4 separate regions of the Homo sapiens genome follow, and regions 1, 2 and 3 are each linked to region 4. The links are contacts of gene promoters, found by promoter capture Hi-C in blood cells and fetal thymus (Javierre and others, 2016). All regions are on one chromosome and are shown on one strand. Each heading gives the region's core, a stretch centred on a gene start or on the middle of the fragment in contact. The rest is flanking DNA. Distances are from core to core; before and after follow the strand shown.

The links. The method cuts DNA at HindIII sites, captures the fragments that hold promoters and counts their contacts. A CHiCAGO score of 5 or more calls a contact.
Region 1: a contact is called between a fragment that was not itself captured here and the fragment with the promoter of MN1 in region 4, in 2 of 17 cell types (M0 macrophages and M1 macrophages). The highest score is 7.5, in M0 macrophages.
Region 2: a fragment that was not itself captured here is called in contact with the fragment with the promoter of MN1 in region 4 in 1 of 17 cell types (M0 macrophages); the score reaches 5.8 in M0 macrophages.
Region 3: a fragment that was not itself captured here is called in contact with the fragment with the promoter of MN1 in region 4 in 1 of 17 cell types (M0 macrophages); the score reaches 5.2 in M0 macrophages.

Annotation. Positions count from the first base shown.
Region 1 is chr22:26,765,943-26,772,751 of GRCh38, reverse strand. The region is part of intron 2 of MIATNB (MIAT neighbor); the gene reads right to left. Among named protein-coding and RNA genes, the nearest start is that of MIATNB, 97 kb to the right of the region's middle. The HindIII fragment of the contact is 1,707 bases long and covers 3,983-5,689 here.
Region 2 is chr22:26,780,896-26,787,857 of GRCh38, reverse strand. No RefSeq gene overlaps it. Among named protein-coding and RNA genes, the nearest start is that of MIATNB, 110 kb to the right of the region's middle. RefSeq lists an enhancer at 3,235-4,434. The HindIII fragment of the contact is 1,107 bases long and covers 913-2,019 here.
Region 3 is chr22:26,736,890-26,743,155 of GRCh38, reverse strand. The region is part of intron 2 of MIATNB (MIAT neighbor); the gene reads right to left. Among named protein-coding and RNA genes, the nearest start is that of MIATNB, 67 kb to the right of the region's middle. The HindIII fragment of the contact is 7,579 bases long and covers 1-5,524 here.
Region 4 is chr22:27,799,678-27,806,547 of GRCh38, reverse strand. MN1 (MN1 proto-oncogene, transcriptional regulator) reads left to right here and starts at 4,792. Exons shown (of 2, transcript NM_002430.3): 1 at 4,792-6,870. The coding sequence starts at 6,005. RefSeq lists enhancers at 1,255-1,818, 1,819-2,383, 6,726-6,870. The HindIII fragment of the contact is 19,591 bases long and covers 1-6,870 here.

The DNA of each region.
Region 1 (6,809 bases), core at 3,587-6,086, 1.0 Mb after region 4:
CGGGAGGTGAGGGGCGCCTCTGCCCGGCCGCCCCTACTGGGAAGTGAGGAGCCCCTCTGCCCGGCCACCACCCCGTCTGGGAGGTGTGCCCAGCAGCTCATTGAGAACGGGCCAGGATGACAATGGCGGCTTTGTGGAATAGAAAGGCGGGAAAGGTGGGGAAAAGATTGAGAAATCGGATGGTTGCCGTGTCTGTGTAGAAAGAAGTAGACATGGGAGACTTTTCATTTTGTTCTGCACTAAGAAAGATTCTTCTGCCTTGGGATCCTATTGATCTGTGACCTTACCCCCAACCCTGTGCTCTCTGAAACATGTGCTGTGTCCACTCAGGGTTAAATGGATTAAGGGCGGTGCAAGATGTGCTTTGTTAAACAGATGCTTGAAGGCAGCATGCTCGTTAAGAGTCATCACCAATCCCTAATCTCAAGTAATCAGGGACACAAACACTGCGGAAGGCCGCAGGGTCCTCTGCCTAGGAAAACCAGAGACCTTTGTTCACTTGTTTATCTGCTGACCTTCCCTCCACTATTGTCCCATGACCCTGCCAAATCCCCCTCTGTGAGAAACACCCAAGAATTATCAATAAAAAAAAATAAATAAATAAATAAAATAAAATAAAATAAAATAAAATAAAAAAAAGAGGTTAAGGGTGGGCTGGGCTGGTAATGGGTACCCACTGATAAAAGCAACAATAATAGCAACTCTTACTTTTTTTCTGTATGTGCAAGGCACTATGATGCGAGGCAATTTACCCAACCTGTCTCATTTATGAGACGACCCTGTTTTTGTTTGTTTGTTTTTGAGATGGAGTTGCCCAGGCTGGAGTGCAGTTGCGCGATCTCAGCTCACTGCAGCATCCGCCTCCTGGGTTCAAGTGATTCTCCTGCCTCAGCCTCCCAAGTAGCTGGGATAATAGGCGTCTGCCACCATGCCCGGCTAATCTTTTGTGTTTTTAGTAGAGACAGGGTTTCACCATGTTGGCCAGACTGGTCTTGAACTCCTGACCTCAGGTGAGCCATCCACCTTGGCCTCCAAAAGTGATGGGATTACAAGCGTAAGCCACCGCGCCTGGGCAAGACGACCCTTTAAGAAAGACCTTAGAAAGGAATTTCGTACCTCTCCCCGACTCTTCTGCCCTTTCTAGTAACCATTTTTTCCAGCCCTCAACCAGAGAAAAATAAACTGAGATCCTTATTTGGTCACTATAAAATATATATATAAAATACATATTGTGCCACATTTCAGTTATGCACAGGGTTACTGTACCACAAAATCGGCACCCTCTTGCCTGATTCTCTCTAAGCAGAGTTTTATCCCTGGGGAATCTCTGGCCATCCCCACTGGTCTTTATTTGCTTGATATACCTGGTAGGGTACACGCATTTAGGACCCCTCGCAGGATCTGGCCATCCTTCTCTCCCTACAGGCAATCCTGAGCACACAGGTCCCAAGATTTATATTTACACTGGGAAATCAGAAACCTCACTTGAACCTGGAGCTGAAGAATAAAGAATACTTTCTTCCTCATTTGATTGTTATTTGTCAGGCATCGAACCTTTGTCAGCCCCAAACCCTGCAGGGATGGGGAGATAAATGGCAGATCAGAATTAGGCATTCCAGAATCACCTTCCCATTGCTAACAAAACTTACTCCCAGTTGCTGCTGGAAACTCCCGTTGCTGACAACAATTAGCCCCAGTTGCTACTGGAAAGCGCTGATGCCCAGAGAAGTAAAGCAACTAGCCTAGTGTCACACAGCTAATAAGCGGTAATAGCCCAGATTTAGTCCTGCCAATCCCATTTCTGAGTCTACTCACTTCATTACTGCACTACTGTTTTTTTTGTTTTGTTTTGTTTTTGTATGACAGATAGTGGTTTGGAGGCTGTGAGGAAATTGTGTAACCCTTCTGGGTTGGAATTTTCCTCTCTGTCAAGTAAGAGAGACATTTTCAAGGTTGCTCTGGGTAACAACACCCTGAAATCTCAAGACGATGAATTCCTTGATACAAATGTCAACACCCCTGTCTGCTCCCTACACAGCCTGGCATATGGTAGGAGCTTAATGAATGTTCCACTTATGACCAGACTCTCTCCCTTACCCTCAGTGGGCATGAGTCTGCCTTTGTTGCTAATTCTGCACTTGACTCGTAAAAGCATCAAAGGCAGGGAGGAAGGATAAGAGGGGAAAAGGGAGGATTATTCCCACTTTATTTTTAGTTTAAATAATAGAGATAAAGAGGGAAAGACTGAGATAAGGGGGTCATCTTTCCCTCCCCCCTTTTAAAGAAACCTTAATTTCTTTTTTTTTGTACTTTTTTTATTATTATACTCTAAGTTTTAGGGTACATGTGCACAACGTGCAGGTTTGTTACATATGTATACATGTGCCATGTTGGTGTGCTGCACCCATTTACTCGTCATTTAGCATTAGGTATATCTCCTAATGCTATCCCTTCCCCCTCCCCCCACCCCACAACAGGCCCCGGTGTGTGATGTTCTCCTTCCTGTGTCCATGTGTTCTCATTGTTCAATTCCCACCTATGAGTGAGAACATGCAGTGTTTGGTTTTTTGTCCTTGCGATAGTTTGCTGAGAATGATGGAAGAAATCTTAATTTCTGCAGAGGCAAGTCCTTTGACTTTCCACCTGTGACTTCCCATTTCTAATCTGCAAAATGGGTACCTAGCACCTACCCTCCTTACTTTGCTAAACACATTCAACCATGACCTTCAAATGATACCTTGCCACTTCTACACTGAGGAGCCTTGGAAGGGCAAGGCATTCTGCTTCTCAAGCTTCACTCTCCTCTCCTATAGCATGGACCTCATGTTCATGCTCACACCTACCTCACCCTGCCATTAAGAAGATGAAATGACACATAATGGAAAAAAGTCTCTGCAGCCCTCAGCAGGCTGAGCTGATGTGAGCAATGCTGATAGCAAGATTCTGAATGCCCTTCCCCCAAGGACTCAAGATAACCTCCAAAGCACCCACAAGCTCAGTCCCTCATTTTGTCCTCCTAACAACCCCCAAGGCAGCCATCATCACATGCACTTGGCAGGTAAGGAAACCAATGCCTGCAAACTCAAACGGGGCTCCAGCCTCAGCACCATCACCCTTTTGCTAGACAACCCACCCTGCTCTGAGCCTCGGTCTTCCTCACCTGTGCAATGGGGCCAATATCTCTCCTCTGCAGAATTGCTGCAATGTGGTTTCCGGCACATCCTAGGTGCTCACATGCTCTTGCTCTCCCTGGGAGGGTCAGGCCTTGCCTAAGGATACCCCGCACTTGAGTGTGGGGCACCTGGGTCTTGAACGCAGAGCTCCCAAGATCCAGTTCCACCCCCTCTGACTGCAGAAGGCACTGCCCCCACGTTCTCGCTGGGAGTCCCTGGGAAATACTTCCATTGTAATTCCTTGGACTTGAAGCAAAAATTAAAGTTGCTGACAGCCTGCTCACCACCGTGCCGATTCGTAATATTGATGAATCAGGAGCCGGGCCCGGCTCTGGCTGTGGGTACAAGTGCCCAGAATATTCATGAGCCATACTACCATTCCCTGATGGCATCACTTCCTCCTTACGGTGTCATCATTCCACCACACGTCACTTGTTCCAACGTGATCTTCCGATGCCGCCCACACATCCCAGCCTGGGCAGACAGCCCCTCCTGCAGAGAACTAAATTCTAGGCCACAGTGAGGACAATTGGGTTGTCATCAGTGCACGGGGATATCATGGGACAATTACAGGGCCTGGGCTCCCACCAACACCTAGCAGGAGGTCATCTTCATTCTCCAACTTGGAGCTCTGGTCGAAGAAAGCAGCTTCTCATTCAAGCCCATGGAACAAAGCGACAGCTTGGTAACCCCCTCTCCCACCCTCCAAGGCCTGACCTGGACATTTTGGGAATCAGGGACATATTTCTCAATAAATACCCTTATCCCAGAAGGAGGCAGCCTGCCTGTCCTTGCACCCTGCAAAAGCTTGTCTGTGAGATGACATGAGTTGCCGTGTGCTTTTCTGGTTAAACATTTATACTACAGCTTTTGGAGATAAATGATACATACATGTGTCTGCATGATTACGATTAAATATTAAGCAGACACACAGACCTGGTCGGCCTGAAGGAAATGAAACCCGGTGACACAAATGTCAGATCTGAGAGGTGCTGAAGGGGGGATAATTAAGAGCATCAAGGTTGACCCAAGGCCAGTCGGGTCCGAGGCCACCCCAGCAGAAAGCAACCACCTGCCTCCCATCGGTCCCCTAATGAAGCTGAATAGACACACTGGTGGCTTTTGTCTTCTTGCCTTCTTTCCCCTTCTTCCCTCTTTCTTTCTTCACTCTCCAAGGCAAAGCCAGCTTGGGCAGCCTTCCCTACTCGTCTCTGCCGCACCACTCCAAATCTGACTGCATTTTTAAATTGTAGTTGATTAGGTTTTACGAGCTGACTTGCTCGACGTGGCACAAGTCGCAGTATATGTCAGAGGCCTGGCAGAGACTTGAATTGAAATGATTCTAATTACGTGTGATAATTTTTGCATTCTAACATAAAACAATGTTACCCAAAAAAAATCCCATTACAACGGTTAAAAGACAAATCATTTAGCAAGTCCCTTTCTTTATTACTTTATTAGACAATTTACAAGGCAACATTTTGAACATTGGGACCGGGCGATGGCCCAAGTCTATCCAACCGTAAGTTGCACTAAGAAAAGAGAGTTCATCTCTTGTCATTAGTCAGAGAGTCAAATGCAATCACGGGGACTCCAATTGGCTTGTCAGATTAGCCACCGTTTCAAATCATTAGCATGGCAGAGCATTGCAAAATGCAGGGCGCTCCGAAAAGAAGCATTTAGCTGCCACCCAAGATGTTTTAGAATGCTTCCTCCAAGCAGCGTCCAAGTACCCCAGATTCCCTCCCTGAATATCCCCCGTACCCGCCCATCCCCAGCAAATATCCTGCCCCATTCCTCGCAGCTTGGTCATGTGATCTGTTCTAGCCAGTGAAATCAGAGCAGGGGTGACTTGTGTCACTTCTGGGTAGAATCTGCAAGAGATCGTGCATGCTTCTCTGAATCTCTTTTCTCAACTGCCTTCGGACTAGCAATGTCCACTGACCTGAGTTATGGGTAAAAAGTATTTTAAGCAAAGCATCAGCCACTTTTCATCACGTAATGATAAAAGTGTGAGTGATGAACATGTAACTTGAATGAAAAATAAACCTTTGCTTTTTATAGGGTGACTAACCTTCCTGGTTTTTGAAGGTCTGCGGGGGTTCCTGAGATGCATGACTTTCAGTTCTAAAACTGACAGTCCCAAGTAAATTGTTTTGGGGTGCCTGAGACTGAGAGATTTCCTGGAATGCAGGATTCTAGTGCTAAACCTAAGAAAGTCCTGGGCAAACCAAAACAAGTTTTGGTCACCCTCTTGTGTCCGGAATTCGTTCCTTCCGGTGGGTTCTTGGTCTCGCTGACTTCAAGAATGAAGCCGCAAACCCTCGTGGTAAGAGTTACAGTTCATAAAGGCGGCTCTTCTGGAGTTGCTGGTTCCTCCAGGTGGGCTCGTGGTCTCAGTGGCTTCAGGAGTGAAGCCGCAGACCTTCGTGGCGAGTGTTACAGCTCATGAAGGTAGTGCCAACCCCCAGGTGTGCAGCAGCAGAATTTTCTGTGAGGAGCCAAGGAACAAAGCTTCCACACCGTCGGAGGGGACCCAAGCTGGTTGCCGGTGCGGGCTCGGGTGGCCTGCTTTTATTCCCTTATTTGGCCCCACCCACATCCTGCTGATTGGTCCATTTTACAGAATGCTGATTGGTCCGTTTACAGAGTGCTGATTGGTCACTTTTGACAGAGCGCTGATTGGTGTGTTTACAAACCTTTAGCTAGACACAGAGTGCTGACTGGTGCATTTACAATCCTTTAGCTAGACAGAAAAGTTCTCCAAGTCCCCACCTGACCCAGAAGCCCAGCCAGCTTCACCTCTCACTATCTTTGGAAGCCATAGATAATTTTGGAGATGTTTGTTACCTCAGCATAACCTGGACTAAGCTGACTGATACACTCTCACTTTACAAACAAGGGAACCAAAGTTCAGAAAGTCAACAGACTTGGTAAACATAGAGTGGCATGAAGGCAGAATGGAGATTTTGCAATCAAATGAGTGGAGGTTTGGGGAGGTCAAAGCGGGAGGAGCACTTACAGCCTGGAGTTCAAGACCAGCCTGAGTAACATAGTGAGACCCTGTCTCTACAAAAACAAAATTTAGAATTAGCCAGGCATGGTGGTGCATGCCTGTAGTCTCAGTTACTTGGGATGCTGAGGTGGGAGAATCACTTGAGCCCAGGAGTTTGAGATTGCAGTGAGCTTTGATCACACCACCACATTATTCCAGACTGGGCAACAGAGTGAGACCCTGTCTCTAAAAAAGTCAAGGTTTGTTTCCTGGCTCTGCTGATTACTGGCTGTACTACCTTGGGAAAGTGTCACAGACTGGTTCCTGGGAAGCAGATGCTGGGGCAGAGTTTAGCGGGCAGCATGTTTAGTAGGAAGTGTTCTTGGATCAACACCTTTGGAGAAGAGGAAAAAGAAGCAGAGTTGGGAACAGGGAGAAGTTGAGCCATGGTGAAGGTTCAACAAAGGTCTCAGCCAATCCTATGGGGCGCTCTGAAACTGGTTGGCCCTTTGGAGCTGTCTCAAGTTGGGATAAGGAGGTCAGGCCTTTATCCTCTTGCATCTATCAGTCATTGGATATGGGTTGACCCCAGAAGGGAGTGAACTTGGGTGATGCAGTTTTCCTGCGCTGGGGCAGCCCTG
Region 2 (6,962 bases), core at 217-2,716, 1.0 Mb after region 4:
AGAAACCTCTGATGGCCTGTTTGTATGACGTCCAGAGTACCTGTGAGAGTCTCCAAGGCCCTGTGCCCCCATGTCCTCTGTGATTTCGTTTCTCACCACGTCTGGCTCACTACACTCAGTTTCTCAGTGTGGCCTTCAGTCTGTGACAGGAACACACTGAGACGGAGCAGGACCCCCTTTTGGCGGTCTGCATGCCCCTGCCACCAAGAATGGAAATAGAGGAAAATTCCGAGTTCCTTCAAGGGAAATTCCAGGCACCTAGCTAGCCCTAAGAGGTAAATAAGTAATTTGAGGCTGGATGTGGTGGCTCATGCCTGTAATCCCAGCACTTTGGGAGGCCGAGGCGGGTGGATCAGTTGAGGCCAGGAGTTCAAGAGCAGCCTGGCCAACATGGTGAAACCCCATCTCTATAAAAAATACAAAAGCTAGCTGGGCGTGGTGGCGGGCACCTGTAATCCCAGCTACTCGGGAGGCTGAGGTGGGAGAATTGCTTGAACCCAGGAAGTGGAAGTTGCAGTGAGCTGAGACAGTACCACTGCACTCCAGCCTGGATGACAGAGTGAGATCCTGTCTTAAAAAAAGAAAAGAAAAGCAGCTTGATAAGCAAGAGGGTAATAGTAACAAGGCTAAGACAGGAACCAAGGAAGTTAGTCAGATGTTTGATTCCCCTATAGAAACTAAAAGTAACATCTTAACATATGCCCCTGAGTTGTTTTCCAGAACCCTGAACCCCCACCAATGACCCCCACTGAACAGCTCTGCTGTCACCTAAACCTCAGATAAGGGGGAGCTGATGGCTGAACTCTGACCCCCATTTTTTGTTCTAAATTTCTTCCTGAGGAGTCTGGAGAGAGTCAAACCCCAAAGCCAGTTAATGTTCTTCTCTGCTGACCCCAAATTTTAAACAAAGCTTCTCTTCCTTAACCAGTTACAAATCAGATAGTCTTTGAATCTACCTATGACCTGTAAGCCTCTGCTTCAAGGTATCCTGCCCTTTTTGGCCAAGACCAAGGTGTAACCTCCATGTATGGATTTACAATCTTGCCTATAGCTTCTCCCGACATTTACCCCTGCGTTTAAAAACACTTACCTGCAAGCCATCGGGAGGTCAGGATATAAGCGTTAGCCGTCTGGTCCTCCTTGCTTGGCACCTGGTAAATAAACACCTTTCTTTCCACCACTGCAAGACCTCCGTGTGGATATCTGGTCTTACTGCACCAGGTAACTAGACCCTAATTCAAGTCTATTATGTTGGTGCAAAAGTAATTGCGGTTTTTGCCATGGAAAGTAATGGCAAGAACTGCAATTTCTTTTGCACCAACGTGATATAACAACACTGATAAGAGTGAGAAAGTTGCTTGCATAGACAGGGAGGGCTTTGGGAGAAGGTGGACTCTATCTGGTCCACCTTTGGGGACCAGAGGTCCCCAAACGATGCATTTGGGGAATGCATCGTTTCCTACCATTTTAACAATAAAACTCACAGTCCTGTGCAATGCTCTGAGATGGGAAAAGAATGTTGTTTCATTCTAATACGTCTGGGAAATTTGCTCCAATCCTTTGTGGAGCGTCACGATACATGTCAGAAGTTTAAGTCCCTGACAAGGCCTGCAGTAAAGGCACCTGTTGGAGTCCTGACCTCTGTAACACATTTGAATGTGGATCTGAGCTAGAGTAATTTTAGTAAGAAGTTTCTGCTATTTTTAGCTCTAAGTCAAGAAGTCTCTTTTTCACCTCTTCGTGGCTTGTGGTGAGGCAGAAAAAAAGGGGTAGCAGAAAGATTAGCATTCACTGAGAATTTCCGCTCCCAACATGGGGCTATGTATTTCATACAACTTGTCTTATTTGTTCCTCACAACAATCCTATGAGGTGTGTACAATTATGATCCCCATTTGCAGAGGAGGAAACTGAGCTCAAAATGACTCTGTCATGTCCACATGACTAGAGAAGCCATTTTTTCCTGGCTCTAAGCTAGAGCTCTTTGGGTCCAACCTACCTCATCTTACTACCTGGAAGCTTGACTGTGGTTCCCAAACCTCTGTCCCTATCCAGCCTCTCGATTTCTCTCCAGATCTTCTCCACGCTCCCTTGCCATCCCAGCCTCCTTTGGAAACCAAGGGGTTAACCTCTCCTTCCTGTTTGCCCAGACTCAAGTTCATTACGCTGACTAATTGATTCCGCCACTGCTAATGGAAAATGTATCTGCAAGTAATAGATTAATTGGCCACTTGTGATCAGCTCTCAACCAGAGGATCACTGGTGGTCATGCTAGACCCACTGAGTCAGTCCTTCTGGAGCCAGGAAAGGGAACCAGAGGTTAGACTCAAAGGGATCATGGGGGTGTCCAGAGTTTTACCAACTATCACCCTCACAAAAGGCCAGCCAGCTGGTTCCATCCCAAAGGAGGCAGATTCTGCATCCTAAGTCATTAAAATGCAAGTGCATTAACTTGAAAAGAATGGAAATCTTAACAGCATAATGAACCACAAAATATCAGAACACTGGCACATCAGCTTCCCTTACCCCCAAATGAGGGAAGGGGGGTTGCTTTCCTCAGAAGGTTTAAAGTCATTCGTCATAAAATAACAGCTACCAGTTTGCTCACTGACTATGTGCAATCCACTGCATGGTTTCATTTAAACTTAGCAAAAGCCCAGGCGGCAGGTGCTATAATTATCTCATTCCACAGAAAAGAAACGGGGCTCAGAGAGCTGCACCAACTTGCCCAAGGTAACACAGCAAGGAAGTAAAAAAAAAAAAAAAGTGGGCTGCGGGGAGACCTCAGGTCTGCAAACCCCAAAACCAGATCTTTTATCCTCTATCCCAAGGATCAACAAATGACAACCTATGGGCCAAATCTCGCCAACCACCTGTGTTTGTAAATAAAGTTTTATTGGAACACAGCTATGCCCATTCATTTACATATTGTCTTGGCACCCCAATAGCGCAATGCACCACAAAACTTAAAGTATTTACTATTTGGCCTTTTGCAGGGCCAGAATAAGTTTGCAGACCGCAAGCCAAGTTACCCTTCCCAGCTGGTGCTACTGGTACCTTAATGAAATGAGGGCGGGATGACTATGGGAGAAAAGGCTGGTGTGAACCTGGGGATCCCAAAAGAAACTCAGTCTCCAAGATGCACAGGCTGTTTCCTCAGATTATAAGGAAGGTTTCTTATGAGTCTAAGAGCAGAAAGGAGAAAGGAAGAGAGATAGAGAAGAACAAGCCTGAGCCAGACTTGGAGATGAAGCTGGGTGAGAACCAGATCTGATGACAGAGGGAGTGATGCAGGAAGGAAACCAAACCAGGGAGGCTGGTGAATGCAAATCCGTATCTCAGGACCTACCCTCTTGCTTGCTTTAGGACTCCAGAAACGTTTGCCTCCCTTCAGATACCCTCAGTTTCTCTGCTAGAAAATGGGGGTAATGATGGTGTCATCTGGAGGACTCAGCAGGATAGAGCATACGAAGTGCACAGCAGGCACACAGTAGGCACTCAATAGATGCTTGACAGATGAATGAAGGACTCAGCTAGAGATCTCAGAGGTCAAATTTTGCAGAGTTCCACCTTTGCAGCAATGGTAAGGAAGAAGCTCCCCCGACCCCCTCCTTCCTCGCTCTATGGGCTGGTACGGGCAGTTTTACAAGGCTGAAAGAGTCGCCGGAGGCTGTAAAGACACGAGGGCTTTTTCCTTTAAGTCTTCCCTGTAAGTCACCTCGAAGCATTTCCGGGATCGATTGGCTCTTCTCCTCCTTGTAGGAGCCCTCCCCAGGGAACTGTTTGCCGAAAGGAATCGGCCAGTTTGCATTTAGTCACCTTTATCTGACCCAGGAGATAAATCTCTCTTCGTTTCGTTTTTCTGCAGGGAGGATCCTGGGAGGCCCGCGCCGCACCACACAAATGCTGGAGACCTCGTCCATTCAGACAGTGATTATTCCAAATGAGAGATGATTCGAAGGCCTGAGGAAGTTGGTTGTTCTCAGAAAAGGAAGAGGGCATGTAGAGGCACAACGGCAAAGGTGCATTTAAGCTGCTTCAAGGAGCTTCTAAGCCTCCTTCTGGGGATGCCCGTGCATGGATCACAACCCCGGGAATGGGCCACTATGGGCAGAGAAAAAGGACACCACTCTGCCGAGAGGGACTTCAAGTTGAACAGAGAAGGGAATCCTAGCCACAATATCCTAGAGGCCACGTGGTTTATGAAGCCTGGATTTCAAATCCCAGCTCCTTTACACTCACCCCAGCAGCAGCGTCCTGGGTAAATGGCTTAAATGTCTTCTTTTCTGCGTCTCATTTTCTTCCTTTGCAAAAAGGACATAACGATGCTGACCTCATAGATACTGACCCCATAAAATGGTCTTGAGGACTAAATGAGCTTCTACACATAAAGAAAGGGCTTAGCACATGGTGAACCCTCAATACAGGTTGCCATTCCCACTCTATTGTTGTTTGGCTGATGCAGAAAAGCAGAGGCTGTTATTCACACACTGACCCCATGCCCCCTCCCACCAATGTGCAAGGTTGGTTTAACCCCACCACCACCCCCAGCTTCTGCCTCTCCTAGAGAAAGTTGTCCTGCCAATGGCAGCTTTACACAGAAGACGCCACTGGCTTCCCCCAAAGAGGTGGATCTTGTGCCCAGAGATTCCGAACCTCTTCATTCATAAATTTCCTTCCAACATTCGAGGTCCCCTCCTCAGGGGTCTCCTTTCAGATGCCTGGGATGGCTGAGGGTGCTTTGAAGTCAGTCTTTCTGCGAAGGGCTAAAACTCTGTGTGCTCCTTCCCATGGAGGACACAAGTAAGTGGCAATGCTTACCCCCAGGAAGCCATCACAAACTGAGGTCATGCTGACACTATAGCCTTGGCCAGGAGGGATGTTTTGGAGCGATCTGGAGTCCTGGTGCCTCTGACCTCCCACTGAGTCACAGCAATTAAGGGTTCAGCATAAGACAGACCACCTTTCCAATCCCAGATTGTCACTTTCTACCCTGTCCAGTGGCTGAATCTCTGCAAGCCTCAATTTCCTCATTAGTAGAATGGGAATATTAGTTGTATCAGCCTCATGAGATTATCATACAGTTAGCAATGAAATATATTAAAAAGCCTTCAGGTGTCTGTGCTTGGGCAGGGATAGGTATTATTAACAAAGAGAGCCTCCAACTGCAAGCTGAACACCATGGCTTTTCATTCCATTTTGGCCACAAACTGCTTAACAACTTTGGGCAAGTCCCTGCCCCTCTCTGGGTCTCAGTTTACCCTTCATACTCTCCAAGACTCCCTCCCCACTGGGAGACCACCATGCTGGGCTCACGTCTGTTGCACGTGACCTCTCAAACTTCTGTTTGCTCTGTCTTCACCCAGCGTCAGCACCGACTCTGGGTGGTTTTGCTCCTGAATCTCCACATTTGCCAGGGATACCTGCCTATTCATTGTGTTTCTTTTCTAGGAGCAGAAAACTAAGGTTGGCCAAGCCAGGGTTCAACCGATATCCTCTGCTTTTTTTGAATCATGCACACACACACGCACACACACACACACCTTGGCAGAACAGCCATCTCCTGCTGCCTTCATCTTCCCATGCCCCATCACTTGTTCATCCAGAAGTCCTTGTCAGAATGTCCCTCCAGGGATCAGCAGGTGGGAAATGTCATTTTGGATCCATTACTAGAGCTCCAAGGTGCTTAGAGATGATCAACACCAATTTCAACTTCCATCCACGGAGGAGGGAAGGTCGGGAGCAGCCCTCATCTCTGGCAAGGGGATCTGTGCTGGCCACCCCAGGCTGCCAGGTACCAGCACCCCAGGGCAGGGAAGGAGGGCAGCTTGCAAGGGCCGGGGGATGTCAGCCACTCTGTGTCCTCAGATTTCCCTGCCACGGCTGATTTGAATAATTCAGCAATGCCGGGTCTCCTGGGCACTATTGTCTTCAGTGAAGGCAAATCAGTCGCCCGCTCGGCCTGTTAAGAGGGCCCCTGCCTGCTGCCTTTTTCTGTGAATCAGGATTAATGAGATGGTGAGGGGAAGCGCCAAGCCCTGGGCAGAGATGCCGGCAGCCGGCTCTCTGGGAGCAGCGGGCCTCAGAAGTGGCTTCCGCCTTGATGTCCTCGGGCAGTCTTCTGGGGCAGCCATCAACCTGTCGATAACTAGCTATCACCCAGCCTGCCAGACCCCCAGCCTCCTGCCTGGCTCCTATGACTTCAGGAAAAAGAGATAGCAAGAGGGAGAAGGCGATCGGCAGGCGCCCTTTTCCCCTCACCTCTGGCAACGCGGCAGGCTGGGGTGATACACTTCACAGAGGGCTTCCTTTCCTGCAGGCTGCACCAAAGAGTGAGGTGCGAGGGTGATCCTCCTAGCCCTAGCCTGGGGCTGGTAAAGAGTTTGCTGGGCTCCAGCCTCCACTGCAATGCGGTTACAGAGACAGCCAGGGCCCCACACCTGGTTTTTTGACAGCTGTCACTCACATAGGGTACAAGAGACAATGGACAATGTCCTTGTGCCTCTCACTGGTGGTGCCTTCCTCTCCCTCCCTCTGCCTTGTAGTGGTCAAACAGGTGGGCTCAGGGTGCTCCACTTGTATGCTGTGTGACCATGGGCAAGTTGCTTAACCTCTCTGGGCCTCGATGACCTAATCTACAAAATGGAGATAAATACATTAGTTGCCCCACAGTTTGCTGAGAGGATTTCCAGGTATTTAAGCTTGTAAGCCCTTATTATGAGCTGATATCAAGCACACAATCATGTGTGGTCATATTGTATTAGTATCATTATCATTGGTAACTCTAAGATGGTGCTACTTGTCGGGCAGTCCATAGCCCATGCCACATGGCAAGTCGTTTGTTACCTGTCCACAGTAAGGTACCCACAAAGAATACGTACAGAGAAAGAAAAGTATTCAGAAAGTTTTGTAGCAATTTGGCAGATGGCAATTTTGTATCATTGAATATAATAATGAAAAAAGG
Region 3 (6,266 bases), core at 486-2,985, 1.1 Mb after region 4:
GGATAAGAATGATTAGTCTCAGAATAAAGAGACACGGGTTGCCTGTAGCTTACACACGGACTTAGTCATTTAACAATCTTTTCACAGTGCGTGGTTAATCCTGTCGCTCCATGCTGGAAACCCTGTAAGGTCTTCCTGATCTGGGTGCTGCGCGGAACTCTGAGCTCATTTTGGATCCTCTTCCTATCCTTCAATGCCCCAGTCCCACGGCGCCTTTCTGTTTCAAGACTGTGTCTCTCCCTCTCCTTCTTCAAGGTCTTTTCTTTCTTTCTTTCTTTCCTTTCCTTTTCTTTCTTTCTTTCTTTTTTTTTTTTTTTGAGACGAGGTCTCACTCTGTCGCCCAGGCTGGAGTCTCGGCTCAGTGCAACCTCCATCTCCCGGGTTCAAGCGATTCTCATGCCTCAGCCTCCCGAGTAGCTGGGATTACAAGTGAGTGCGGCAACGCCTGGTTAATGTTTGTAATTTTAATAAAGACAGGGTTTCACCATGTTGGCCAGTCTGGTCTCAAACTCCTGACCTCAAATGATCCGCCCCTGCCTCGGCCCCCCAAAGTGCTGGGATTATAGGCGTGAGCCACTGCCCCTGGCCCCTCAAGGTCTTTTCACAAATGTTTCTTCTCGCCTAGAATGTTCTTCCCCCAAATCTAATCCCAATCAATCTTCTGGTCTGTTTTCCCCATACACCACAGAAACAGCACCGACTTGTTTTTATTTCTCTTGCCCACCAGGGCTCGGCACGGCACATGGCACAAAGTAGACAGTCAACAAATCCTTCTGAGGTGAGTAAATAAATGAGTACGTATCATTCCAACAGTAAAAAGTTGTGAGTTTTCTGCCTTTGGCACACAGATTCACTCATTCTTTCATTCATTCAATATTGCATCATGGGCTGGGAGATATAATAGTGAACAAGAAAGCATTCTTGCCTTCAAGGAGATGCTGGTGGGGGAAGTGGGCAGAGTCATACCAGAGTTGTCACAGAGCCACCATGGGGGGCTGAGGGAGCAGAAAACAAGACTTGGGAAGACAACAAATACTCTGCAGAGAAGGTGAATCCAACATGAAAACTGATAGATTAATAGAAATTAGGTGGATGAAAGCAGGCAAATTGCCATGAGGAGGGGGAATGGAGTGGAGAGTGGGTAATTCTAGGCAGAGGGAACAGTAAGTAGAACTGTTCCCGACTACACGCAGTAAGGGAACTACTGCGTGTAGTCGGGAGCGGGGGGAGAGAGAAGGAGAAGAGAGGAAGGAAGGGAGAGTGAGCATTTGTTGGGGGAGAGTGAGCGGCGAAGATTCAGAGGCTAAGTCAGGAAAGAGGGAGATCCACAAGGCAAACCTGGAACAGCTTTGAAGCCATCATCAGGAGGCTGGGCTCAATCCAATGAGGCCATGAGACCCCAGTGAAGTACATTAAGCAGGGGCATGACATGGCCACATTGTGTATTGGAAAGAAATCTTCTTCATCTGGCCCATCACCTTGGGGACTCGGGCTAAGAATTAATATCAGTTTAAGGGTTTCGATTTAGACAAATTAATGACGCCATAGTAGAAGCAGCTGGGCAAGTCTGACAGTTCTCCACCTTTTAAAGTCAATATAATCATCACTGACTTTTAGACTCCTCACACCATAGACTCCCAGGAGCACAGACTCCTAGAGATAGAGAAACACTGTCTGATAGACCCAGGAAAGTGGAGGCAAGTGCTTCAGTATTGCAGAGAACTATGGGAACCAAAGCTGGGTATGGTGGCAAGAGCCTGTAGCCCCAGCTACTTGGGAGGCTAAAGAAGAAAGAGTGCTTGAGTCCAAAAATTCAAGCCCAGCCTGGGCAACATAGCAAGACCCTAGTCTCAAAAAGAAAAAAATAAAATAAATATAAGGCCTATGGAAACCAGAAAAATATAAGATGGAGCTGTTTAGCCACAACATTGCAGAGGCCTGAAACCACAGAATTATAAACCAATAACATCACTCTGCCAGCACATGGGACTCAGTGGGCTTACACAGCCCAAGTCTTTATGAAATGACACAGCATCCTCTCCGGGAGGTGGCCGTGCTCTCCCTAAACCTTCTTTATATGGTGTTCCATCTTTTCCCCTTCTGTGGCTGTCTCTGTGGATGCCCCCGCTCCATACCTCAGGACTGCTGTACCCTACAGCGGCTCCCAGCACCCCACTGGCACCAGTGTATATCTAGACCCCAGTCTTGCCCACCAGGAGCATAAACATTTTCTTAGCTAGCACTGGTCCTTAAGATAAAAGCTGGGGTTTTTTTTCCCCCCTCCCAGGGTGCCAGAGTTCAACTCCATTTTCTCAGATTAAATAAAATTTCAAAGTGTCAGTCCCTGGCAAACGACAAGTTGGAGGGTGGTTGATTTTTCTAACCCGATCTTCAGTCCAATTACAATTTTTAATCTATATGTAGATAATGGTGAACAAAAACCCCACAGAAACGTCAAGAGTGAGGAGGTTATTAGCTTAGTTTTAATTACTGCTGATCATTCTTAGCGACTGGAGGGACCCAGCAAATTAGGGAAAGGAGGCATTCCTCCAGGAGAGTTCAGCGGGGCCCCTGGGCTGCTGTTCCAGCAGAAGCTGTCCCCGCAAAGAAACATTGCCTGGTCCAGAGAATGCACGTCCTTCCCCACCAGCCCTGCCACGACTTCCTGTGGAGAAAGGCCAGAGGACTTGGGCACAATCAATCCAGCACCAGCTGATGAGATGTGATCTCAGCCCTTCCTCCTTCGGCGTCCCTCCAGGCCACCGCCTCTCCCTGGCTCCCCCACTGCCCGTGTTTCAAACACACCTCATGCTTCTTCTTTTGTCTGGATAAAAGTAATACATGCTTATCATGTGAAAGAAATTGGAAAATAGAAAAAGGTGAAATATGGAGGGAAGAGAAAAACCTATTCTAGTCTCACTACTTACAACTGCTAATATTTTGGGGTAGTTCCAGTCTTGTGTGTGTGTGTCTTATATATATACTCATACACATATATTATACATATACATATATAAAATATGTAAGTATATAATTGAACATTAAATGTGCATAATATATAAAAATATTTATATTTTAAATATTTGTATTATAAAATATATAGAAATAATTTATAATAACTAATAGAAATATAAACATATTTATATTATTTTAAATATTGTATTATAAAATATATAAACAACATATAATTATAATTATTAATAAATCATAATGTATAGCTGTAATTACATATGTAATACATACACAGACAAATTGGAATTAGCTATAGTACTTCTTGTGCCATGAATGTTACTTGTGAACTTCATATTAGTGGCTACAGAATCTTGTGTAGCCTGGATACACTGTACGTTTCACTAATCCACCTCATTTTTGCACATACAAAGCTAGTGAGCATTTTAATAGAGATGACAATGTTTTAGGTTTTATATTTTACTCTGGCTTTTTTTTCAAATAAAGTGGTTTTCTATGTTATTATAAACTTGGTAACTATCATTGTGATGAATTATTTTACCTCTACCAGTATTTTTGAGGAATCAATTTGTGCCAAGCCCTGTTCTAAGTGGTTGAGATGTAAAAATCAAAATCCTTGAAGGATTAGAATCTTCTAGGGTTTCTGACCTTATAAAATACAGCTTTTATTAAACTGAAAATATGTGTTTAAACTAGCCATTCTCATGTTATTGGACGTTTAGGTAGTTTAATGTTTCTCAAATTTGTATATGACACTATCATGGACATTTTGTATGTAAAGTATTATCTTTCTTCTGAATTGTTTCTTTTTCTTCTTATACATTTATTTAAATGCATTGAATGGATCTAAGGATATTAATATTTTTAAGATTTTTCATAAGAAATCTGGTTTCCCATAAATGGAGTTTTAGGGGGTAAAACTGATCCTGAACCATCTCAAAAAAAGTCACACAAAAATAGACCCTTCAGGGGCTCTATCAAGAGATTACCTGGAAACATACTGCTACTTTTAATACTTCAAAGTTTGTCAGAAGTATGTAATGAAGGAATAACAATATCTCATGCATGAATGAGCTGTACAATTTTTTAAACTTCACATTTATTATTTAATTTCTGAAAAAAATGAGAACTGTAAAATAGTGCTTCCAAAAGTTTAGTATAAGCATAACTCGTAGTCGGCCAAGTGATTTTGCATTAATAGAGACATGACTCTATTTTCAATTTTTATTATATATTTATGTTTTTGCATATTAGAGAAAAATATGAGTAAAATATCAAACCCACACTTCTATAAGATTAGAGTTTAGAAATGGACTAAGGAAGAATAAGAAGTGGGTTAAAACTCAATTTAAAGCAAGACATTAAGCAGAGATGCCTACAAGCCACCCATGAATATGGCGACCATGGGGAGTTTCGAAGTTAACAGGAGACGCTGCACATATCAATGAGACACAGGAGGCTGGTGATGAGATTGTTACCTGCGTTAGCTAATGGAATACCAAAATGAAGAGAGGCAGGAGGATGGTTTGAGACCAGACTGGGCAACAGAGCGAGACCCTGCCTCAAGAAGAAGAAAGAAGCAAGAAGGAACAGAAGAAGAAGAGGAAGAGGAAGAAGAAGAAGAGGAGGAGGAGGGAGGGGGAGGGGAGGGGAGGTGGGGAGTGGGAGGGAGAGGGAGAGGGGGAAGGAGAAGGAGGAGAACAAGGAGGAGGGGAAGGGGAAGGAGGAGAAGAAGAAGGAGGAGGAGGAGGAAGAGGGGAAGAGGGAGAGGGAGAAGGGGAAGGGGAAGGAGAAGAAGGAGGAGAAGAAGATCCAAGATTTCAGGGAAGTTGCAATTTATTAAGTATCCATGTAAGGCAATGCTCCAATGGCCAAACCACATTTTCCTTCACCCAAGAGATTAAAAATGAAGTTTCAAGCCTTTTTGGCTGCACATTAAAATTACCTGAGGAGATTTTTCAAAGCGCGATGGCTGGGCCCTCCCCTAGAGGTTCTGCACCTATAGGTCTGGGTGGAGCCTGGGCATCAGCGTTTTTAGGGCTCCCTCACTGGTTCTCATGTGCAGCCAAGGCTGAGGAATTCTGGTCAAGGCCACCTTCTTTCTGGACACCTCTGGATGTTGTCCTGTCCACAAAATAGAGATTAGAGTCCACGCCCCGACTGGTCTCCCTCTGCACCGGCATTCTGAAAACTTCCCCAGCCCTCTGCTGCTGGATAATGAGGCTAATGACCAATCAAGCCCTAATGAGGATGGATTCGTTTATTAAGCAGCAATTATGTGCCAGGTGCTTTCCCCTTCCCAAGCCCAGGAGACTCAAGGGCAAGCAGGAGACGACCTGGGGAAGGCTGGGGAAGAGGGGGCAGCCAAGAGAAGGCAGAGAGCCACTGCATCTTAGGGGGTCTTCCGGACGAGCTTGGGGTCCAAGCACAGGGGGCGTGCTAGAAACACAGCAGCAGCTCATGTAAATACCCAGCCTTTAATGAGGCAGAGTGGACTTGAGGATGGATTGGGTGCACGTGTGAGGGAATCCCATCTGAGCATGGCCAACAAGCTTCCAGGCAGAGAATGTGCTGCAGGAAAAGTGGGATGGAGGGAAAAGGGCAGCCTGTGGGGAGAAGAAACCCAACCGGGGTTGGGCAAAGGCCATTAGGGGAGGAAATCACACACAGCTCAGCAGACCATCTGGGTCCCTCCTGAGACTCTAGGATCTGGAAAGCTCCCCATCCCCACAGGAGAACAGGAATGCAAGTGAGAAACTGGCCTGAGCATTCCTCAAGAATGAGGGATAAAGTTTAGGAAAGGATTTGATGACTACCCACTCACTCTTCTGCTGAGACTCCCTGCAATACAACCCCAAAATTATACCCAAATGGGAACCAAAGTTCTGCTTATCAGTGAATGGACAATCATAAGATCCTTTTGCTCCTGGGTTTATTGACAGGCTAAGCTGAAGGATGCAGCAGAGAGATGGATCAGACACCTTGTCAAGCAACGTGTTCTTTGTCTCCAAAATCAAAGCCTGCTTTTCATCCTGAGAAATTCAGGGTTTGGCATCTTGGAGGCACACGGTAAATACTTCTAAGCATGAAAGATATGAATGGGATGAATAGGGATGACATTGATTGTGGTAGAATGGAAGGGATGAAGTGGAAATGATGGAATGTATGGAATAAAATGCAATGGAGTAGAATGGAATGGAGTGGATTCAAATGGAACGAGATGGTACAAAAAATATAATACAATAGAATAAGATGAAATGGGAAGGGTGGAATAAAGTGGAGTGAAATGGAATGGA
Region 4 (6,870 bases), core at 3,543-6,042:
TGAATCTGAATCTGTAATGCCCAAATCCTTGACCTTTCCACCACTGGCCCACTGGAGAGGCCTGTTCTGCTGACCCCAGGTGTCCGGAGAAGTAGCTTCCCCTCCAGTCCTTCTAGGAACACTGCCTGCAAGAAGGGCTTGAGCTTCTGTGGTCCCGGTGAGTTTCCAAGCTCCAAAGGATACGGGGGTTAGAGGAAGAAGGCTAAGGATATTGCTGTGTGTGTGTGTGTGTGTGTGTGTGTGTGTGTGTTTGTACTAGTTTCTCATGTTTGTGTGGGTGAGGGAGACACTGAGAATAATATGAATCATAATTTTGATAATATTTGGTAATAATCACAGTGGTAATAAAGGTTGCTAACACTTGTTGGCACTTACCATGTCCCCTGCACTGTGCTAAGTGTTTTACCTGAACGATCACATTCAGGTAGAGCAGGCCGTGGTTAAGAGACAGGCGTCAGTGTCAGGGAGATTAGAATCTCAGCTCTGCCATTGTTTGACTTTGGGAAAGTCCCTTGACTTTCTCGATCTCCTCATCTGTAGAATGGGTTCTGAGTCCCCACTTCATGGCGTTGCCGTGAGGATGACCATGGGTATAATGCACAAAGCACCAGCCTGACACGGAAGGAGCCTTCCATGTCCTGAAGCCAGTGGGCAGACTCATCCACTATGGGGAGGGGTGTGTGTGTGTGTGTGTGTGTGTGTGTGCTGACATCCCCACACTATGGAGGGGTGTGTGTGTGAGTACATGGATGCTGACATCCACACACTATGGAGGGGTGTGTGTGTGTGTGTGTGCTGACATAGCCACACGCTATGGAGGTGTATATGTGTGTGTGTGTGTGTGTGCTGACATAGCCACACACTATGGAGGTGTATGTGTGTGTGTGTGTGTGTGTGCTGACATCCACACACTATGGAGGTGTACGTGTGTGTGAGTGTGTTGACAGCTACACACTATGGAGATGTATGTGTGAGTGTGTGTATAAGTACATGGATGCTGACATCCACATACTATGGCGGGGTGTGTATGTGCTAACATAGCCACACGCTATGGAGGTGTATATGTGTGTGTGTGCTGACATCCACACACTATGGAGGGGTGTGTGTGTGTGTGTGAGTACGTGTATGCTGATATTGCTCTGTGTGTGCATGTGAGTGCATGTGTTTGCTGACACAGCCACACACTATGGAGGTAAGTGTGTACATGTGTCTGTGCTGGTGGTGTTGGGGGCCAACGGGGCAGGCACGAAGGCTGTGTGTCTCCTGGGTGACGGGTATTGGGTGTGGGTTGCTTTGTGTTTCTATAGAGTGAGAGTTCACTGGTGGGCTGCAGGCTGAGGCTCCTGGGCTAGCTGAGGTGTGCCAGGCTCTCCATATCAGCGGTGAGTGTTCTGGGGGCCATCCCAGGCAGTTCCCCACTTGTCACCAGCTTAAAACATCCCTCTCCAGCTCTGGGGCCCCATCCAGCTGTGTCTCCTCCTTCCCTTGCCCAGAGGGCCTCCTCTGGCCGTTGCCAGCACACTCAGTGCCCCCGGAGGGGGACCTGGGGAGGGAGGAGGATGGAGAAAGCCCTGGCGGGTGGAGGGCCCTGAGGCTCCTACTGCTCCCGGCTCTGCGCCTGCGGGGACTTTGAATTCATCTGAGCGCTAGGGGGCAATGTGTCTGTTCCAAAGAAACACTGCGGGACCTTGCGGGCGAAAGCACACACAGGCACACGCAGGGGTGCCCACACTGTGGAGGCGCACACGCCGGCGCATACACGGGCACAGATGGGCACAGGCTGTGAGGCACACGCCCTCACACTCGCAGAAAAAACAGATACACTGGAGCAGAGATACAGGCATGCAAGGGGTGAGGCAGCTGCACACACACAGGTACAAACGCAGTGGCTCACACACACAGAAATGCGGGGTTGGGGGACAGACAGAGAACATGCACCAAGACCCCCAAAGATCCATGCACGAACGCCGACGCAGGCATGGACAGAAACACACGCAGATGCCCCGCCACCCGCATACAAGCAAAGGCACAAAATGCAGACGTGTGCCACACACCCGCACAACATTTGCAGTGTTAAAGAAAGGTGACCGAGACACACATCCTGAACAGAAACTTCACCAGGTCCAAACACTCCCTTCTTTCAGCCACTCACACACCTTGTGGAGCTAACTCTTGGAAACAGCCCCAGAAAAATACTCCCACACCCCCCCTCCCTGGAGCACACGGAATTATTCCACAGGAAACCTGCCCAGGTGTGCTGGAGACCCCCACCCAGCCCTGTGTGAAGTCATGCCTCAGCTCTGCAGACGCCCCCATCCGGGTCTCCCCAGACGACAGGCCTGTGAGCCATTCTTCCCACTCTCCTGGCCCACCCCCAGGCTCCAGACAGGTCCCCACTTTTCCCTATTTCCTCCAGACACAGAAACACAGGCGGCTCATAGGTGCCTCAGGAGACACCCATAGTCGAGAGCAGACTGAGTGTGTGACCCAGTATCTTGGACTATGCCCAGGCCTTTGCCCATGTGGGGGCCTCTTCCTCACAACCAGGTTTTCCTATTGCCTCCCGCTTTTTGTCCAGGAGGTTCAAGATCCCCCCTGCTCTGTCTCGGGAGCCCCAGAGCCCCAGGGTCCTAGGCCCCGGGGCGGGCGGGGGGGGGGTGTCACTGGAGGGCCTACCCAAGCCTTTATTTCTTTGTGCCTAAATCAGCAAAGCCTCAGTCTTTTCTCTGGCTCTCACTTCCCTGTCACTTTGCTAAGTAATAATTTCCATGTCCAATTCCATTTCTTTTCTAGTTCTGAAACCTCTAAGCTATCAGCAAGAGGATAGTTCACATGAAAACTAATTACACAAAATCAATATTTAATCACAGACCAACAACCTGATCCTGCAGAAAAATCCTTTAAAAACTCCACCGCCCTGTACAAATACTTATTCCCTATGCTTATTTATGGACCCCATTTTTGATGGGGGTAATTTTCATTTTTAATTTCAAAAAAGAAAAAATATATATGTCTGTAAACTTCCACAACAGGAAGGCCCCGGGAAAGGTCTTGGATCTGAGCTTGCTCTGGCTGAGTTTTAAAGTTGTTGTTTTTTCTTGTTTGTTTATTTTTAATTAAAATTTTTTTTGGGCGGGGGGCAATTTCTTAGGAATTCTGCCGCTACCCCAAAGTTGAGCCCATTTCCCCCCACCCCCGGCATGTCGGTTCTGGCATACTTAGCACTGCCTTCCTAGCCGCAACTCAGGGGAGCAATGAATCTGCGCGTACGACATGGTAACTTTTTAACTCCTGCCCGCGACGGTGGAGTGCTTAATCTAAGGTTTTTAAATAAAAAGGGCTCAGGGGTTGGTTTTATTATAACGTTTATTTCATTTCAGATTTCATGCGTAATTTAGCAAACGCTAGACAGACTCGGGCGATAAACACTTTCTTTTGTGGGGGGGGAAAGGCATTTTCATACACCACGCTTAATTTTATTTAGATTTAATAGCGATATCAGGGGCACTTCAAAGAAAGTTCTTTTTTCGCCCTTCTCCTAAGAATGCGAATCTGCTAGCAAAATCGCCTCGTGCTATTTTATGGCAAGGAAAATTAAAGGCCTTCTCCCCCCTCCTTCCCTACACACACTTTAGGGAGGAACACACACACACACACACACGCATGCACAAACACACGCACGCAGGCGCGAGCACACGCACACAGGCGCACAGAATAAACACCTCTATCCTCCATCACCTCTAACTTCCAACTTCTAATTGCAAGATAGATTTCAGCCTCTGTGGGGATCAGGACGATCTAAACATTTTAACTAAGATTATTGGGATAAATATTTCATAAAGAGCAGGGCAGATATTAAATTACTCCTATTGATTTTAGTATCACAGCCCAATTCCATTCCTCGGCCTCTTCAGTTTAATTGATCTCTTAAGGAGGCCAACTTCGCACCCGCAGAGGGTCTGGGTCTTGGACCGGGTGGCCCAGGGCAAGGTGTGCGGCCCGGCGGGTGCGCCCTCTTCGTGCGTGTCTTCTCGGGGTTCCCAGCCGCCTCGCAAGTCGCTCCGGTTACTGGGCTCAACCGATGTGCTCCCCCATAAAGTGGCTGAGTGACTGTGACTCCTTGGAGCCCACGCCGGCCGGTGAGAACCGGGAACCCCAGGCAGTGGGGAAGGGGAACAATTGTGAACGCCCTAGTGACGGAGGAGTGAGCAAGCGCCCAGGTCTCTCGAGGAGAACCCTAACTTCGAGGTTCCCCGTCTGCTTTACCCTCCAAGAAAATCCCAGGGCCGGCTAACTTGGGCGCCGCTAGCGGAGAACGGAGTGTTCACCCCGGAGCCGAAGTGCAGTAGACACTTAGCGACTTTCCGTGGCGAGTCTAGGGTCTTTGCCTGGCGACCTCATTGTCTGAGCGCCCCGTACCGCTCACCGCCCACCTCCCCGCCCCCTGCCCACCCGGTGGGTCTCGCTCCAGTTGGGGGTGGGGAGTTGGGAACAGTGTGAATGGGAAGGGGGTGAACAAAGCCAAGCTCCCGCCATTCTCCTCCGCCTGCACCCTCTCCAGCTCGATGCGCCCGGAGGCCGGGGCGCGCCCCCAGCGCACTGACGCCGGACCCCGAGGAGAGGCGGGCGCAGGGGACCCCAGAGCTGGGGTAGTGCGGGTTCGTGGCGGGGGCTTCGGCAGCCAGGACCCCGGACCACCTTAAGAGCGAGCCCCGCCCCGAGCCCGGAACTTGGGCGGCGCTGATTGGTGCAAATGTAATGGCTGAAATTGATTGCTGAAATGCAAAACTTGTTGCTGCTTCTCCCGGCGCTGGGCGAGAGGCAGACACAGAGAGGGGAGCCGAGACCCTCGGAACGCCCCACGCAGAGCCCCCCCGCTAGTCGGGAGAGGGGTGCGCAGACCCCCCAGAGCTGCCCCCGCGCCCCCCTCCCCCCATTCCGGGCTCTGAGAGCGCAGCGGGAACGCCTTAGCCTGCTCGCCCGGCGTGGCCCCCCGACCCGCGTACGCCCCCCTCCCTCAGGTCCGAGAGGGACTCGCGAAGCACCTCAGCGCGGAGGCAGGGAACCGGAGCCTTGGAGCGACCCAACCCCTCGTCTCGCTGCCCTCCCGCGCCTGCAACGGTGCGCGGAGACTCCGGCGAACTCAGACACCCAACGGCGGAGAACAGAAGCGGCAGGCGGCGGACGTGGCCGCGAAGCTGCGCGCCGAACGCAGCGCACCCGCTGCCGAGCAGAGGAGCCGCGCCTTTCCCCGACCCTCGGCTCCAGCCCCCGGCGCCTGCCGCCTCGCAGCCCCTCTGCGTCCTCGGCTCGGGGGCCGGCACCGGCGATGCCGAGCGGAGCCTCCAGTCCTCCGACCCGCTGAAGAAGCAGCAGCCGCTCGCCCGGAGCCTACGGGGATTGTGCGAGCGGATCGTGCTCGGTGGAGGCTCGGGCTGCGGGGCGCGGGGACTCCGGGGGGCGGGGGGAGGGACCGCTCTGTCGGTGCCCGGCGCCAGCCGCGGCTTTGAAGGGTCTCCCTCCCCTGCCCTTAGCAGCTCTGCCACGGACTCCGGGAGGCTGCGGGCGGCGTCCTGAGGGCTCCCCAGCAGACCCAATCGGACTTGAGAAGGTGATCGCTCTGCTCTCCCAACCCCCTTCCCTCCCCATTCCCCCCACTTAACTTTTTGTCTCCGTTCATCCGCGGCTTCGTCCCCTCCCCGCAGACCCACCCGCGGCTGTGACAACCGCCCGGGGCATGGGCCCCCCAACACGGCTCCTAGAGGCCCCGCGGCCTCGCAAGATGTGAGAGGCCCTCCCCGGGCAGAATCGGAGCTTCAGGAGAGGAGCTAATACCCCGCCCCCCGTCCCTCACATCAGGCGGGGTGGAGGTGCGCGCTGAGCCCCCGCGGTGCTGAGCGTCCCGGAGCGCCCAATCCTGGGCTGGAACGAGTAGCTGGCCGGAGGCGCGCCGCGGAGAGCCGGCTGTCATGCCCTATTGATCCCCCTCTGCCCCCCGCCAAGTATGTTTGGGCTGGACCAATTCGAGCCCCAGGTCAACAGCAGGAACGCTGGCCAGGGCGAGAGGAACTTTAACGAGACCGGACTGAGCATGAACACCCACTTTAAGGCCCCGGCTTTCCACACTGGGGGGCCCCCTGGCCCTGTGGATCCTGCTATGAGCGCGCTGGGCGAACCCCCGATCTTGGGCATGAACATGGAGCCCTACGGCTTCCACGCGCGCGGCCACTCGGAGTTGCACGCAGGGGGGCTGCAAGCGCAGCCTGTGCACGGCTTCTTTGGCGGCCAGCAGCCTCACCACGGCCACCCGGGAAGTCATCATCCCCACCAGCATCACCCCCACTTTGGGGGCAACTTCGGTGGCCCGGACCCCGGGGCCTCGTGCCTGCACGGGGGTCGCCTGCTCGGCTACGGCGGCGCAGCCGGAGGCCTGGGCAGCCAGCCGCCCTTCGCCGAGGGCTATGAGCACATGGCGGAGAGCCAGGGGCCTGAGAGCTTCGGCCCGCAGCGACCGGGGAACCTCCCGGACTTCCACAGTTCAGGTGCCTCCAGCCACGCCGTGCCGGCCCCATGCCTGCCGCTGGACCAGAGCCCTAACCGAGCCGCCTCCTTCCACGGCCTGCCGTCCTCCAGCGGCTCCGATTCCCACAGTCTGGAGCCACGGAGGGTGACGAACCAAGGAGCCGTCGACTCGCTGGAATACAATTACCCGGGCGAGGCGCCCTCGGGACATTTTGACATGTTTTCGCCCTCTGACTCCGAAGGGCAGCTGCCTCATTATGCAGCGGGTCGCCAGGTTCCTGGGGGCGCTTTCCCGGGCGCCTCGGCCATGCCCAGAGCTGCGGGCATGGTGGGCTTGTCCAAAATGCA